Linked DNA regions of Homo sapiens: region 2 is linked to region 1. Evidence: promoter capture Hi-C in human tissues and cell types (Jung and others, 2019). All regions are on one chromosome and are shown on one strand. The core of a region is centred on a gene start or on the middle of the fragment in contact, and the rest is flanking DNA. Distances in the headings are between cores, read along the strand shown. Region 1 holds the start of ITGAE (integrin subunit alpha E). Region 2 overlaps ZZEF1 (zinc finger ZZ-type and EF-hand domain containing 1).

Region 1 (7,597 bases), core at 3,790-6,289:
GGTACCTGTAGTCCCAGCTACTTGGGAGGCTGAGACAGGAGAATTACTTGAACCCGGGAGGCAGAGGTTGCAGTGAGGTGAGATCGCGCCACTGCGCTCCAGCCTGGGCGACAGAGCGAGACTCCGTCTCAAAAAAAAAAGAAAGGATTCTCACCTTCCTGTCCCTTCCTAGGAGTTTTGTGGTAGTGTTCGATCCTGTGATGTGGCCATCTTCTCCTCAGGGCCTGTGAGAGGCAGGCAGCATCTTTAGCTGAGGTAGAATGCCTGTTGGGGAAAGTCAAATAGGATGGTGGCTGGGGCCGGGGCTCTGGGGACTCCTTCTGCCCCACATACTCAATTGGAAAGACTGAGCAAGTCCCCTCACCTCCCTGGGCCTCAGCTTCCCTGTCTGTCAAATGGAGGGCTCAACTGGGGTGAGCTCCAGTTTCCTTCTAGTGCTAACGCGTGTTCAAGGATCCTTGCTCTCCTTTCCGGGGAGCATCAGGGGTGTGGGCTAGATAGCAGGAAAGAAGTAGGGGTTTGTAAACAAGAGATCCAAGCCCCTGGACCCTTGGTCCCAGCACCCAGTGCAGCCCTCGCCCTCCCAGCCCCTTCCTTAGAAAGGACAAGAAAATCCACTCCTTGTTCTCTCCCTGTCCCATCACCCCCGCAGTCCCCCACAGATCTGAGGCCGGAGGATGCCAACATGGTGAGCACCCTCTTGCTGTCTTATTCACGTAGGCTTTTCTTGGTGCCTGCACATGGCTCTTGTAAGGCCACCAATCTTGCTGGATTATGACCTCATCTAACCTTAATTACTTCCTAAAAGCCATATGTCCAAGAAGAGCCACATTGGGGGTTAGGGCTTCAACATATGAATTTGGAGGACATTTACAGTTCAGTCCACAGCACCTGGTCATGTGGAGATCCCAGTCTGCATTTGTGGGATGAAATCTCTGCTTTTTTAAAGTTTACACACCACCTAGCTGGGCACGTGGCTCACACCTGTAGTCTCAGCACTTTGGGAGGCCGAGGCGGGGATCACCTGATGTCAGGAGTTCGAGACCAGCCTGGCCAACATGGTGAAACCCCGTCTCTACTAAAAATACAAAAATTAGCCGGGTGTGGTGGCGGGCACCTGTAGTCCCAGCTACTCGGGAGGCTGAGGCAGGAGAATCGCTTGAACCCAGGAGGCAGAGGTTGCAGTAAGCTGAGATTGTGCCACTGCACTCCAGTCTGGATGAAAGAGCAAGACTCCATCTCAAAAACAAAAATAAAAAAAGTCTACACACCAAAAGAGCTGAAGGCAGGAGAGTTTGTGGTGGTTCAGAGTCCTGATTCTGGAGGAAACAGGCCTGTTTGGAGTCCCAGCTCTGCTCCTTACTAGCTATGTGGCCTCTCAGAGGCAGCATCCTTATCTGAGAAATCGGGTTGACCTTGTAGGTGGCTGAGAGGCTCAGATGAGGGCTCGCATGTGAGGCCTTGGCACTGAGCAGGGCACTCCTACCGAGTGTTCAAAGGTCGTGAGTACCACTGCTCTGCAGCCCTGGGCTCTGGTCTCAGCAATGCCGTCACTCTTTCTGGCTTCCTAAGAGTCAGAAGGCAAGTGGGAGAATAGAACCATTTCCTGTGTCTGAAGGCTGTGCCTCAGTGCTTTTGACTCACTCTGAAGACAGCAGGCAGCCCTTTCTGTTTTTTTTGGAGATGAAGTCTTGCTCTTGTCGCCCAGGCTGGAGTGCAATGGCGCAGTCTCGGCTCACTGCACCCTCCGCCTCCCAGGTTCAAGCAATTCTCCCACCATAGCCTCCCGAAGCTGGGGCTACAGGCACACGCTGCCACGCCTGGCTAATTTTTTGTGTTTTTAGTAAAGACAGGGTTTCACCATGTTGCCCAGGCTGGTCTCAAACTCCTGAACTCAGGCGATCCGCCTACCTCGGCTTCCCAAAGTGCTGGGATTACAGGTGTCAGCTACCACGCCCGACCCACAGGCAGCCCTTTCACCTCACGCCGAGCACGTCTCCTCCATCCATGAACATTTTGCAACTTTTTTTTAAAGAGACAGGTTCATACTATGTTGTCTAGATTGGACTCAAACTCCTGGGCTCAAGCTTTCCCAAGTAGCTTGAACCTCTTAAGTAACTGTGACTACAAGTGCACCTGGCCACTTTTTCTGAGACGGAGTCTCGCTCTGTCACCCAAGTGGAGTGCAGTGGCATGATCTCCGCCCACTGCGAGCTCCGCCTCCTGGGTTCACGCCATTCTCCTGCCTCACCCTCCTGAGTAGCTGGGACTACAGGCACCCGCCACCACGCCTGGCTAATTTTTTTTGTATTTTTAGTAGAGACCGGGTTTCACCGTGTTAGCCAGGATGGTCTCGATCTCCTGACTTTGTGATCCGCCCGCCTCGGCCTCCCAAAGTGCTGGGATTACAGGCGTGAGCCACCGCGCCTGGCCCACCTGCCCATTTTTTAAAAACTTTATTCTTCCTGGTATCAAGGGGAGAAAGAAAAAAATTTTTTAAAATATTTAAAACTTTATTTTGAAATAATTTCAAAATCACAGCAGTTTGAAGGGTACAACAAAGAACATTTTGCCACATTTTCTCTTTCATTCGTTCCCTCCTCTTCTCCCTCACCCCTGTTTCTTCCTATCCTCTCTGAACCATGAACCATTTGAGGATTATTTGTATACATCATGCTCGTTTATCCGTAAGATGTTTTAGTGAACATTTCCCAAGAACAGGGACAGCCTCTCACATGCCCATGGTACAGTTCTCAAATTCAGGAAATGTGTAATATTCTCTGATCAGCCCAGGAGTTGCTAATTTGTAGTTCCTGTTTCAAATTTGCCAACTGTCCCAATAATGATTTTGAAAGCCGTTGTTTTTCTGGTCCAGGATCCAATCCAGGATCAAGCGCTGCCTTTAGTTGTCCTCTCTGCAGCCTCCTTTCGTTTGGAGCAGGTCCTCAGCCTTTCTGTCTTTCATGACATTGATGTTTGTGAAGAGTACAGTCCAGTTTCTGTTGTAGAACGTCCTTGAAGTTGGTCCCGGAATATTTGTTTAAAGTGAGTTGGGAAACCACATTCACATGTCTTTTGGTTATGTGTGTATTTGTCAAACAGCCAGCCTTGTGCTGCGTGCTGTGATGGGGAGCATTACTCAACAGAGCCTGGCCCTGACCTTGGGGATGTAGTTTGGGTTTGTGGGGAAAGCAGCTACCGCCAGGTGGGCTTTACGGACCCCTGTGTGTCTCATGACTAGAGGCACTGACGCTTGGATAAATACATACTGGATGGATGCAGGATGAGTCCGCATTCTAGAAGTGTGCAGAGGTACAGAAGTGGCCCTGCTCCCTGTCCAGCACCCAGTCATCAGCTTTCCCTGGCTTCCCGAGGCACCCTGACGTTCACACTCCAAACACAAAGTCTTCTCTCAGGAATCTCGAGTGAGCTGCAGTCTGGGTTCTAGCCCTGCCCTAGCAGGGATCTGCTCAGTGACTGGGCTGCTCTCTTCCTGCTTTAGGCCAATGCGGGGGAGAGGAGACCACTGTGACTCTCCCCAGTGCCCTTGGAGCGCAGAATGAAGTGAGGGGAGGAGGAGGGTCACGAGCCCTGGAGCGCTGGGAAGACAGGCTGTAGGCCGCAGGCCCCGATCCTGCCTGGGACGAGGTTCAACAGAAGTAGGATGGTTTCATCATGACCTGGCAGGAAAACCACCAGACCTGGAATTTTGCTTTTACAACTGTTTAACTTCTGTTTCATACAGGATGGAAACCGGTGAATTGTAATCTCACATAACCGAGCAAGATCTAGTAGTCATAAGCACTTTGTCAGAGCAAAGCAGACAAGGCAAAGTGTTGGAAATGTCATCGGATCTTCACAGAACCTTAGCCAAGCAGCCTTTCAATGCGAGAAACAAAATAACATGGATTTTTATCTAGTAATGAAGTCAACACCATTGTCCACCCTGGGTTAACACATTCACATCTCAAAGCGAATGGGGCTGCAGACACTCGTGTTAGAGAGCCTTGGAATGTCCTGCCTTTTTACGTTTAATTAAAATTAAATAAAATATACAAAATTCAGTTCATCAGTTGTTCTAGTGGCATTTTAAGGGTTTAGTACCATATGTGGCTCATGAGTACCATCCTGGACAGCGTCGACCTAGAGCAGTTCCATCCCCGCGCAGAGTTCTGTTTGACGGCGCCACTCTGCACTTCCAGCAGCCTGGGGAGCAGGGGTGCAGGAGAGTTCCTTCTGTGTCACAGACTTGGTCACACAGTACAGATCTCAGATCAGCACTTAAACACGACTGCCAGCTGTCAACGGCGTGTTCTGTGGAATGCTGGGATGCATCACAGGTATGCTGGAAGATGTATAGAATTTTACTTCTGTTATTCTGGTAACTCAGAGTCCTGTTCAGTCAGTTTCCACGTCAGGTTGCTGTCCTGGTTTTAAAGAGAATGAACGCAGCCGAAGTTGAATCGAGGCAGTGATTTCACTCAGTGCGTTGGGTCTTTCCACTCACCTGGCCCTCCAGAACCCCAGGGCCTTGAGTGCATGGGCTGGTACAAGAGCCCAGTTTTTGGCTGGGGAGGCACTTCCTATGGGAGGGGGACGCCTGTCTCAGTGCTGAGGCAACCACCACCGAGGACCCTGGGCTGGAAGCTGGGCTGAGATGTCTGGTGGTAGGTTCTGAGGCAGGACAGGGGACCGACTCAAATGGATGATACGAACGGCAGGCTGGATTCACGTTGCTCCTGCACCTCCAGCATCTGCTGAGGACACCTAGAACTGTGGCCCTGGCCAAACCTCAGCTCCCTATTCCATGAAAGTGTGGGTCAAAGTGTGGGTGGTAGAGTGGGGCTGACAGTGGCCCCTAAGCTCCTAGGGTCCAGCCCACAACTGAGGAAGCCACACGGCTGGTTGTGTACGAGCCGGAGTGTCTCTGTTTGGTTGAAAGTGCCGGTCTGTGGGTCCTTGCTGGTGTGTGTGCTTCTGTCCCCGCCTCCTGGCCTCCTGGCTGAGGGGAAGCTGAGTGGGCCACGGCCCATGTGTCGCACTCGCCTCGGCTCCCACACAGCCGCCTCTGCTCCAGCAAGGATGTGGCTCTTCCACACTCTGCTCTGCATAGCCAGTAAGTCCTCTCACCCGCTGCTTCGAGGGGCTGCTGTGCCCTCAGCTCCAGCCAGGTGTCTGCAGACTACAGCCTTGACTGTCTGTCTCTGATGGGGCTCAGTTAGAGCCAGAGGTTAGAGAGTGGCAGCTCCTCCAGGAAAGGAGTCTTGCTCGGTGGGTCAGGGCCCCAGGCTTGTTGGGAAGGGCGGCTGAGGCTTCGTGTTGCCAGTTCTGTCAGCCAGGGCCTTTGGACTCCAGGGCTCTGCCATTCTGTTCCTCCTCCAGCCAGCCTCCCCCCGCCACCGAGGCCCTCTCCCCATGGCACCCACTTGGGGCAGGTCCTTGACTCTGTAGTTTGTTCTCTGAGTGTGGAGGCTCCGCCTGGCAGAGCTCCCTTCTGTTACAGAGCAGGGGTTGGGCTGATGAGGGTGAGGACCCTGTGAGAGAGTGTTGACCAGAGACTGGGGGCAAGTGTCTGTATGGTAGAGGGTGTGAGTGTTGGCAGGGAGCCTGCTTCCTGTGTTGTCAGGCCCAGGGTAAAAACTGGAATGTGGGGTGGGGGGAGGCACTTCTGCTGCCTGGGGGGTCCCATTTTAGCCTTTAACTGTCCCATGGAAGCCTCTGGGCAAGCCAAGCCATGAGTCCTTTCGGGGGCCCCCTGTGATGAGACAGCACGGTCAGGTGAGCCCCTGGAGGCTGCTAAGATTAAGCCGGAGGCCAGGGTGGTCCTGCCTAGTGATCTGAGCAGACTTCCCATGGGTCTCCTGCCCCTGCTCAGGAGGTTGGCCGGAGAATTGGATGGGCATCAAGCTTATGTGGATGAAAGGCTCCTGGTAGCTGAGTTCTCCCTGAAAGATGGGCTGAGGCTGTGCTGGGAGGGGACTTGGGATTAGCATCCCACCTGGGGCCAGATCACCCAGGAAGCAGGCCACAATGTGTAGGGTACCAGCAAGGAACACGTTTTTGGACAGATTTTAATATTTTATATTTCATTTTATTTTATTTTATTTTTTGAGACAGAGTCTTGCTCTGCTGCCCAGGCTGGAGCCCAGGCTGGATCTTGGCTCACCATAACTTCTGCCTCCCAGGTTCAAGCAGTTCTCCTGCCTCAGCCTCCCGAGTAGCTGGGATTACAGGCGCCTGCCACCACGCCTGGCTAATTTTTGTATTTTTAGTAGAGACAGGGTCTCACCATATTGGTCAGGCTGGTCTCCTGCCCTCAGGTGATCGACCTGCCTCGGCCTCCCAAAGTGTTGGGACTACAGGCATGAGCCACCTTGCCCGGCCTAATATTTTATATTTCAAAAACATCAGAATAGTCACCATGGAAAGGTCAACAGTTTGTTGAACTTCCTTTTATTTTACAATTTAGACTTCTCTGTTTTTAGTTACATGTGGGGTGTGGAGAGAGTCTCACTCTTTTTATGGCTTGTGGCTTTGATCTCCCATTACCAAGAATATCTGGAGCAGATGCTTAGACTAGACTCTTGTCTACCCTCTCCCAGTACAGAGGAGGTGACTGGGGCACAGAGCGGGCAGTGACTACCCAGGCTTGCAAGCAACTGATAATAGACACGAGGCTCAAGCCCAGGCCTCTGTCCTGCCTCCCAGCTCCAGAATACTCCTGTGGCTCATCTGTCTCCTTTAGCCTCTGAGACCACCACCCATCACCTCAGTGCCTTTTCCAGCAGGTGGCATCGATCAAACCTCTTTTGAGGCCTAGGCCCTTCCCAAGCTGATGGGCAGCAGAGAGCGATGATGGAGCAGACTTGCCATGAGACCACTTAGCCCACAGCTCAGCTCAGCCACGGGAAGGGGACCAGAGCAGGGCCCCCGCAGCTCCGGTGTGGGTGGCGGAAACGAGGCTGCTGCAGTTCTGCTCCATGCTGTGAGGTCCTGAGACTAGGATGGGCCAGTCCAGGAGAGTTTCCTGGAGGAGGTGAGGTGGCGTTGAGTCTTGGGGGCTGAGGAGAGTCTGAGAAAGAAAATGTCCAGGAGATGCTGGGAGGAAGAACTCCCTCAGACTGTGGCTCCAGGCCCAGCACCCTGTACCCTGTGCCGGGTTGGGCCTCCTTAGGCTGGAGAGAATCCAGGACTGGCCTGGCCTGGCCCTGACCTTCCACTCTCTCCAGGCCAGCCACTCTGGTGATGCCTACTTCTTATTTGTGGCAGCAGACGGAATAATAGCAGTTGTCTAAGGGAGATTTTAGAAGCATTGGGTGCAGACAGACACTGAAACCCTGGAACTGTCCACACCCTGACCACCAGCCCCATCATGCCCTCTTACCCTGTGGCCTGCTGTCCCCAAGTCAGTCTTCACCCCTGACTCATTCTGCAGTCACATCAACTCACTTCTCCATCCTGGGTCTCAGAGGTTGAGTTTCCACCCTTGCGTGAAGAAGCCTGTCCTGTCAGCCTACAACACCTTACAGGGGTGAAGAAGAAGGAACCAGAAGTCCAGGGCCCGCTCTGCTGGTGGCACGCACTCGGGCTGAGGCCA
Region 2 (7,597 bases), core at 2,471-4,970, 270 kb before region 1:
GCACCTAACCTTGAGTTGCAAAATTAGCAGGTAAATTATCTTTATCCAGAATTCTCATGGAAAACTGCTGAGAAATTTAATGGAAAGAAACCTTAACTTGGGTCCTGGTCCCAGTGCAAAAACTCAAAAGTTGTGCAGCTTCAGGTTAATCAGACGACCTTTCTGCACCTCAGTTTCTTTATCTGTAAAATTGGTTTAAGGGTGATTCGCTCTAACATTCTAAGAAATTCCAATTAAAACCACAGATGTTTAAGTTCTTGAATGTAGTAATAACCAAGGAGGAAGCTGTAGGTATTAACTATTACCTTTAGCTAGCTTGCAGCGCCTTCGTAGCATCACCCCACTAGGCTTCCTTTGCTGATAACCTTCTCCTCACCATCTCTTTTCCTCATGTCTCTTAGGGATGCCATCTCTGTATTTACCCTGCTTCCCTGCCGCCTAGCAGGACCCACACGGAGGGAGAGTCTCTCTCTACCTTCATACTAATTCAGGGGAAAAGTGTTTCAAGCCCTACCTAGAGATAAGGCATGGGCTTCCTAACCGCCTGGCAGGGTATGTCTTCTCCACGCAGCGCAGGCGGGAGAAGCAAAAACAGAGCTTCCTTCCACTAGAGTGGGTAATTGACTGTTGCTCATTTTGTTTTGTTTTGTTTTACTTTTTGAGACGGAGTCTCACTCTGTCACCCAGCCTGGAGTGCAGTGGCGCGATCTTGACTCACCACAACCTCCACCTCCCGGGTTCAAGCGATTCTCCTTCCTCAGCCCCCCGAGTAGCTGGGATTACAGGCACCCATCAACACGCCCGGCTAATGTTTGTATTTTTAGTAGAGACGGGGTTTCGCCCTGTTGGCCAGGCTGGTCTTGAACTCCTGACCTCAGGTGATCTGCCTGCCTCAGCCTCCCAAAGTGCTGGGATTACAGACGTGAGTACCGCGCCCAGCCTCGTTTTGTTATTATTGATATTTTTATTCCTACCACCTTTATTGCTCATTTCTTTGGATCTCACATTGCAGAATTTATTTTCTGATTGTTAAAACATCTTGATTACATCCCCAAATCTTAATATCTCCTTTAAAAAGCTGCTCAAATAAACAAAACTGTGTTGAGACATGAGTGATTTATGGAAACAAATGTCATATGGAAGAGTTTTTCTCTGCTGAGGAATCGAGGGGGTGATGTAACCTGTATGGTTTTGGCGGGGGGAATGTCAATATGTATTTTTGTAATCAAATTATAGTAAGAAAGCTGGATAATCTTTTTACTTGAAGGAATTTTCAGTAGAGGGATAAAAGCCTGTGGGTTAAAAGCTGAGAAATGGAAGGCTTCCTGCTGTGGGAAACTTCAGGCTGTGTTCAGATACCACATACCTGTTTGCAGAAGAGAAAACACACAGTCAACTGTGGGAACTCTACAACTGTGGGAACTCGGAATGTCTTGCTGTGTGCAGGTTGTTTCTAGAATGCCTGCCATTATTGGTTTGAAGGAGGCCAGGCTTGTCTTAGTTCTTTCTGTCTCTGCCTTTGTGATATAGATATTGATATAGATATTATATGTCTAAGGACTATTTCTGAGTTAAGACTGAACTACTTTGAGAATGGTCTTTGTCTAGCAAATTTGCTCATCTTTGTCTAAAAATTAGTCACTCTTTGGGGTTAGAAAGGGTGGGGAGGAGTTTTTCAACTTGAATATAAGCTGCTTGAGGGCAGGAACTTTGTTTTTCTCAGCATAATATTCCCAGTGTCTGGTACAGCCCTGGCGTATTCCAGGGCTTCAGGAATTACTTACTGCATTGTAACATAGATGCAAAAGAGAGCTTCATGCTGTTCTAGTATATTATCCTTTGGGTTTTAGCTGAAGAGAAGGGGCAAGCCTCATAGATCTTTCTTTAAAAATTTTTTTTGTTAGGCTGGGTGCAGTGGCTTTACGCCTGTAATCCCAGCACTTTGGGAGGCCAAGGCAGGTGGATCACCAGAGGTCAGGAGTTTGAGACCAGCCTGGCCAATATGATGAAACCCTGTCACTACTAAAAATACAAAAATTTGCCAGGTGTGGTGGCAGGTGCCTGTAATTCCAGCTACTCGGGAGGCTGAGACAGGAGAATTGCTTGAATTGCTTGAACCCGGGAGGCAGAGGGTGCAGTGAGCCAAGATCGCGCCATTGCACTCTAGTCTGGGAAATGAGCAAAACTCTGTCTCAAAAAAAATTGTTATTTTTCTAATTATAAACAAAACCTGTTTATGTAGCAACCTAAGTATAGAAAAGCTTAAAATAATTATCAGCTACAGTCTCACCACTTAGAACCTTTATGAATGTTTTTCTATTTACCTGGACTTTATGTAGGTATATTCATATGTATGTATATTTGTATATATATATGTGTATCCATACACATTTTATTTTTTTGTTTGTTTTTAGAGACAGGGTCTTGCTCTGTTGCCTAGGCTAGAGTGCAGGGGCACAGTTGTAGCTCACTGTAACCTTGAATTCCTGGTCTCAAGTGATCTTCCTACCTCAGCCTCCCTAGTAGCTAGGACTACAGGTGCATGCCGGTGTGCCTGGACAATTTTTTATTTTTTGTAGAGACAGAGTCTTGCTATGTTGCCTAGGTTGGTCTCGAGCTCCTGGCCTCAAGCAATCTACCTTCAGTCTCCCAAAGCACTGGGATTGGAGTTTGAGGCTGCAGGGAGCTATGATGGTGCCACTGCACTCCAGCCTGGGTGATAGAGTAAGACCCTATCTCTTAAAAAAATTTAAACAATAAGAATAATAAAAATAAAAAGTGCTGGGATTATAAGCATGAGCTGCTGCACTTGGCTTCCATGTTTTAAATATATAAACTCTCTTTAAATAAGATCATTTTATTTATACTGTTTCATAACCTGCTTTTTTACTTAATATACCATGAACTTTCTTCCATATCAATAAATACTTTTTTACTCACTGTTAATATTCTAAAATTTTTACTTTTAGTATTTTTATATCTTTTAATATTTTACACACTTTTAAAATTATTTCCATTTTAGAAATTATTAGTTTGAAAAAAGTTAGTTTGAAATAACACAGGAACCCACACAGGTATTTGTGGCTTAATTGAATATTTTTTTCCCTGAGTCTCTCTTACCATCCTCAATGTGTGATTGTCAGGAGGACTTTTCCTGTACTTCAGCAGATTTAGATTTTTTGTGCTTAATGTTGCAGTAGTGAATTGTGTTACCTGAATGTAATCTCCATCTCTGCTTCTCTCCCCAGTCAACAGTGGGGGCAAAATAGCCCTGAGTGAAGAGTTTGCCCAGGTTTATTCCTTGGCAGATGGGATTCGAATATGGATGGTAAGATTTTCTTTGCATGTGATTTTGCTATATTTTAGGTTTTCTACCGTGATATCATGGAATTAAGATGAATTGTTCTCTTCTCAAGAATATAGCTTTAGGATTTTTGTTAAGCTAAAGTTTAGTGACATGAATAGATATAAAACAATTTAGAACCCTTGAAATTATAGTCTGGACAGTTGAAAATAGAGGAAACAGAATTTAGTTGACCCCTCTTTACATCCCTTCGTGGAACTCCGTAGAGTTGGCGGAACAGCATCGCTTTAGATACTAGGTAACCATGGCCAGTTTTAGGTCTCAGCATCACGTAGAGATGTCCCCTCTGAAATTTTGGTTCAATCTGCAGCAGACTGGGTTTATGACCCTAGTAAGACTCTTCATTTCTCTAGATCTCAGCTTCTTCTTTATCAGTACTAGATAGGCTTTAGAGAAAGCCCCCTGCAGCACCAGTGTTCTAGAAATTTTTAAGTAATAAGGTTGTGAGTATTACAAACCCCTCTAAATGATACAACTGTGAAGTACTCTGTGGTGTCAGTGCTGTGTGCTTTTGAAGTAGTTTGCCATGGCTGTCCTTGCTTCCCTGCCTGGACAGCATAATGATGTGGCTCAAATTCTCCCCTAGTTAGAGATGAAGCAGAAGTCCCTGATGAGCCTGGGGAATGAAGCAGAAGAAAAACATAGTTCAGAAGCTACTGAGGTGAACCCTGAGAGCCTGGGTGAGTGTGCTAACACCAGCTGTTGTCCCTGAGCCTTCTGTTTTCGTTTTAGAGCCTGGAAAACCAATTACTCACCTTCTAGATTATCTTAATTGAGGCTGTGTTGACCTAGGGAAAGTAACACAGATGCTAAATATAGTATCCAAGGATGTATCATAAATAGAGAAAATCCCAAAGAGGAGTAATGTTTTATTGGCCTGCTCCAAATGGAACATCTTTCTAATCACTTCTCTTAGGCGGCATCAGGTGCTTTTTGAGCTACATCTTTTTTCTTTTTTGAGATGGGGTCTCGTTCTGTCTCCCAGGCTGGAGTGCAGTGGTTCAGTCATATAGCTCACTGCAGCCTCCCACTCCTGGGCTCAAGCAATCTTCCCGCCTTAGCCTACCGGGTAGCTGGGACATCAAGCAGGTGCCACAACACCTGGCAAATTTTTTTTTCCTCTTTGTATCGCCTGTGTTAAGCAATTAAAAACTTTTTTTTAGAGAAGGGGTCTCACTGTGTTGCCCAGGCTGGTGTCAGATTCCTGGCCTCAAGTGATCCTCCCACCTCAGCCTCCCAAAGTGCTGGGATTATAGGCATGAGCCACTGCACCTGGCCTTGTTATGATTTTAAAGTGTGCTCACACTGAATATTCAGTGAAATAAAAGAATTACTATTATTTTTTAAATATTATGGTTGTTATTTTTTAAAACTCATATATTTTTAAGAGAAATATGCTAAAAATTTTTACAGATAAAATAGTGTGGTGCTGGAATGTGTGTGGAAGTAATCCGGGGAGTGAGGGGTTGATGGGGGTGAAACAAGATTGGCCGTGAGTTAATAATGACGGAAGCTGAGTGACAGGTACATGGAAGGGTCCTTATGGTATTTTCTCTATATACATGTTTGAAAACATCTACAATAAAACTTTTTCTAAAAAGTGTGCTGATAGTACTGGCGAGATTTTGATTTCTATAATGAGATAAAATTTGATTCTGTTCTTCTATTCTGTCAGTAAATATGTGTATCACTTTTTCGTTTTTTGGTTTTTTTGTTTGTTTTTTTTTTTGGAGACAGTGTCTCACTCTTTCGCCCAAGCTGGAATGCAGTGGCATGATCTCGGCTCACTGCAGCTTCAACTTCTCAGACTCAAGCAATCCTTCAGCCTCAGCCTCCCAAGTAGATAAGATTATAGGCGTGTGCCACCATGTCTGGTTAATTTATTGTTTTTTTATAGAGATTGGGTTTCACCATGTTACCCAAGCTGAGGTATCACCCCAAGTGATCCTCCTGCCTTGGCCTCCCAAAGTGCTGGGATTACAGGCGTGAGCCACCACACTAGGCCTATATCACTTTATTCATGAAGCTGTCTCTTGCCCTAAATTGTGACATTTAACTTATTTTCTCTACAGAAGTAGGCAATAAATTTAAACTTTTTTTTTTAACTTTAAATTCTAGGGTACATGTGCACAACGTGCCGGTTTGTTACATATGTATACATGTGCCATGTTGGTGTGCTGCACCCATTAACTCATCATTTACATTAGGTATATCCTCTAATGCTATCCCTCTCCCCTCCCCCTCCCCCATAATTTTAACTTTTTTTTTTTTCAATTATGATTCTTGTTTGCATCTAGCAAAAGAGTGCATTGAGAAGAGTCTTCTATTACTAAAATTTCTGCCCACGGGCATAAGTTCAAAAGAAAGCTGCGAAAAGTTGGAGACTGCTGATGAAACCAGTCATCTCCAGCCACTCAACAAGCGTCAGAGGACAAGCTCTGTGGTGGAAGAGCATTTCCAAGCCTCAGTATCTCCCACTGAAGCCGCACCCCCTGCCACAGGAGACCAGAGTCCTGGCCTGGGCACCCAGCCAAAGCTGCCATCCAGCAGTGGCCTTCCTGCTGCAGACGTGTCCCCTGCCACAGCTGAAGAGCCCTTGTCACCTTCCACACCCACCCGCCGGCCTCCCTTCACCCGAGGGCGACTCCGGCTGCTCTCCTTTCGATCCATGGAGGAGGCCAGACTGGTGCCCACAGTGAAAGAGAAATACCCTGTGCTGAAGGACGTCATGGACTTCATTAAGGATCAGTCGCTCTCGCACAGGAGGTAAGCCCGTTGTTACCTTCCTGTCGCTTTCTCTTTTTAAGCCGTAGGTACCCAGTCTAGTCAGAGGCTTGAAGTTCATGTTAAAAACGAACAAATAATATTTAGGATAGATCAAGACTTGTTTTAGAATATTCAAGAAAAGTTTTGATTTTTTTTTTTTTCTTTAAAGAAGTAATTTTTGGGTGGGCACGGTGATTCATGCCTATAATCTCAGCAGTTTGGGAGGCCAAAGTGGGAGGATCACTTGGGATCAGGAATTCAAGACCAACCTGGGCAACATAGTGAGACCCCCCCCCCTCCATCTACAAAAAATTTTTTTTAAAAATTAGCTGAGGCTGGGTGCGGTGGCTCACGCCTGTAATCCCAGCAATTTGGGAGGCTGAGGCAGGTGGATCACCCGAGGTCAGGTGTTCGAGACCTGCCTGGCCAACATGGTGAAACCTCATCTGTACTAAAAATACAAAAATTAGCTGGGCGTAGTGGTGGATGCCTATAATCCCAGCTACTCGGGAGGCTGAGGCAGGAGAATTGCTCAAAGTTGGAAGGCAGAGGTTGCAGTGAGCCGAGATCACGCCACTGTACTCCAACCTGGGCGACAGAGCAAGACTCTGTCTCAAAAAAAAAAAAAAAAATGACCTGAGTGTGGTGGCACCTGCCCGTAGTCCCAGCTACCTGGGAGCCTGAGGCAGGAGGATCACTTGAGCCAGGTAGGTTGAGGCTACAGTAAGTCAAGATTATGCCACTTAACTCCAGCCTGGGTGATAGAGCAAGACTGTCTGAAAAACAAAAAAAAGATATTTTTTCATGTAAGATTTATATATTATACTGTTTATAAAGTATATCTCAAGAACGTACCGTTAGAATTTTAAAAGGAAGCATTTTTTGGGTAGCTGCCACTTATAAAACTGTCTTATTTTAACCCAGGGAGAAATTTGGATTTGGCATTTTCTAGAAACATGGCCGCCCTATGTTACCCAGGCTGGTCTCAAATGCCTGGGTTCAAGGAATCTTTCTGCATCAGAGGGTTACAGGCATGAGCCACCACACCCAGCCAGGATTTGATATTTTCCAACAAAATTATTTGTTCATAGGCCTACATCTCTGGAAGTATTGCATGTTTAAGTTAGTGAGGAATTTCCTGTCCTAAGAATTAAGGCTTTGTCTCTATGGAAAGTGAAAATATCAATGTTCCTTTTTAATTCGTTAAGTTAAATAATGGGTTGTCGGACTTCTGGACAGTTGGCATGAACTGATTTGTAGTGCTGCTGAGTGATGACTTAAAAATAGTAAAGAGGTATTGGTACTTCTCCTACATGGTGTTTCTAATACCTCACAATAGTGTTTCCTCTTTGATATATGGCATCAGGGCTTTGGCGGGGATATTTTCCGTCTGCCCCAGCTCAAGAGTTTTCTGGGTGTTCCTGACTTGCATTGTGTCTCCAGTGTTGTGAAGGTTCTTTCCCTGAG

The links. The method cuts DNA at HindIII sites, captures the fragments that hold promoters and counts their contacts. A contact is called where the count stands out against the background at its distance.
Region 2: a fragment that was not itself captured here is called in contact with the fragment with the promoter of ITGAE in region 1 in 1 of the 25 tissues and cell types used here (dorsolateral prefrontal cortex).

What each region holds. Positions count from the first base shown.
Region 1 is chr17:3,798,630-3,806,226 of GRCh38, reverse strand. ITGAE (integrin subunit alpha E) reads left to right here and starts at 5,039. Exons shown (of 31, transcript NM_002208.5): 1 at 5,039-5,116. The coding sequence starts at 5,083. NCBP3 (nuclear cap binding subunit 3) reads left to right here. Exons shown (of 13, transcript NM_001114118.3): 13 at 1-4,069. RefSeq lists enhancers at 7,263-7,312, 7,323-7,382, 7,563-7,597. The HindIII fragment of the contact is 9,203 bases long and covers 487-7,597 here.
Region 2 is chr17:4,062,894-4,070,490 of GRCh38, reverse strand. It overlaps ZZEF1 (zinc finger ZZ-type and EF-hand domain containing 1), which reads left to right. Exons shown (of 55, transcript NM_015113.4): 27 at 3,249-3,328; 28 at 3,951-4,044; 29 at 5,662-6,130; 30 at 7,574-7,597. Among named protein-coding and RNA genes, the nearest start is that of ZZEF1, 76 kb to the left of the region's middle. The HindIII fragment of the contact is 6,989 bases long and covers 226-7,214 here.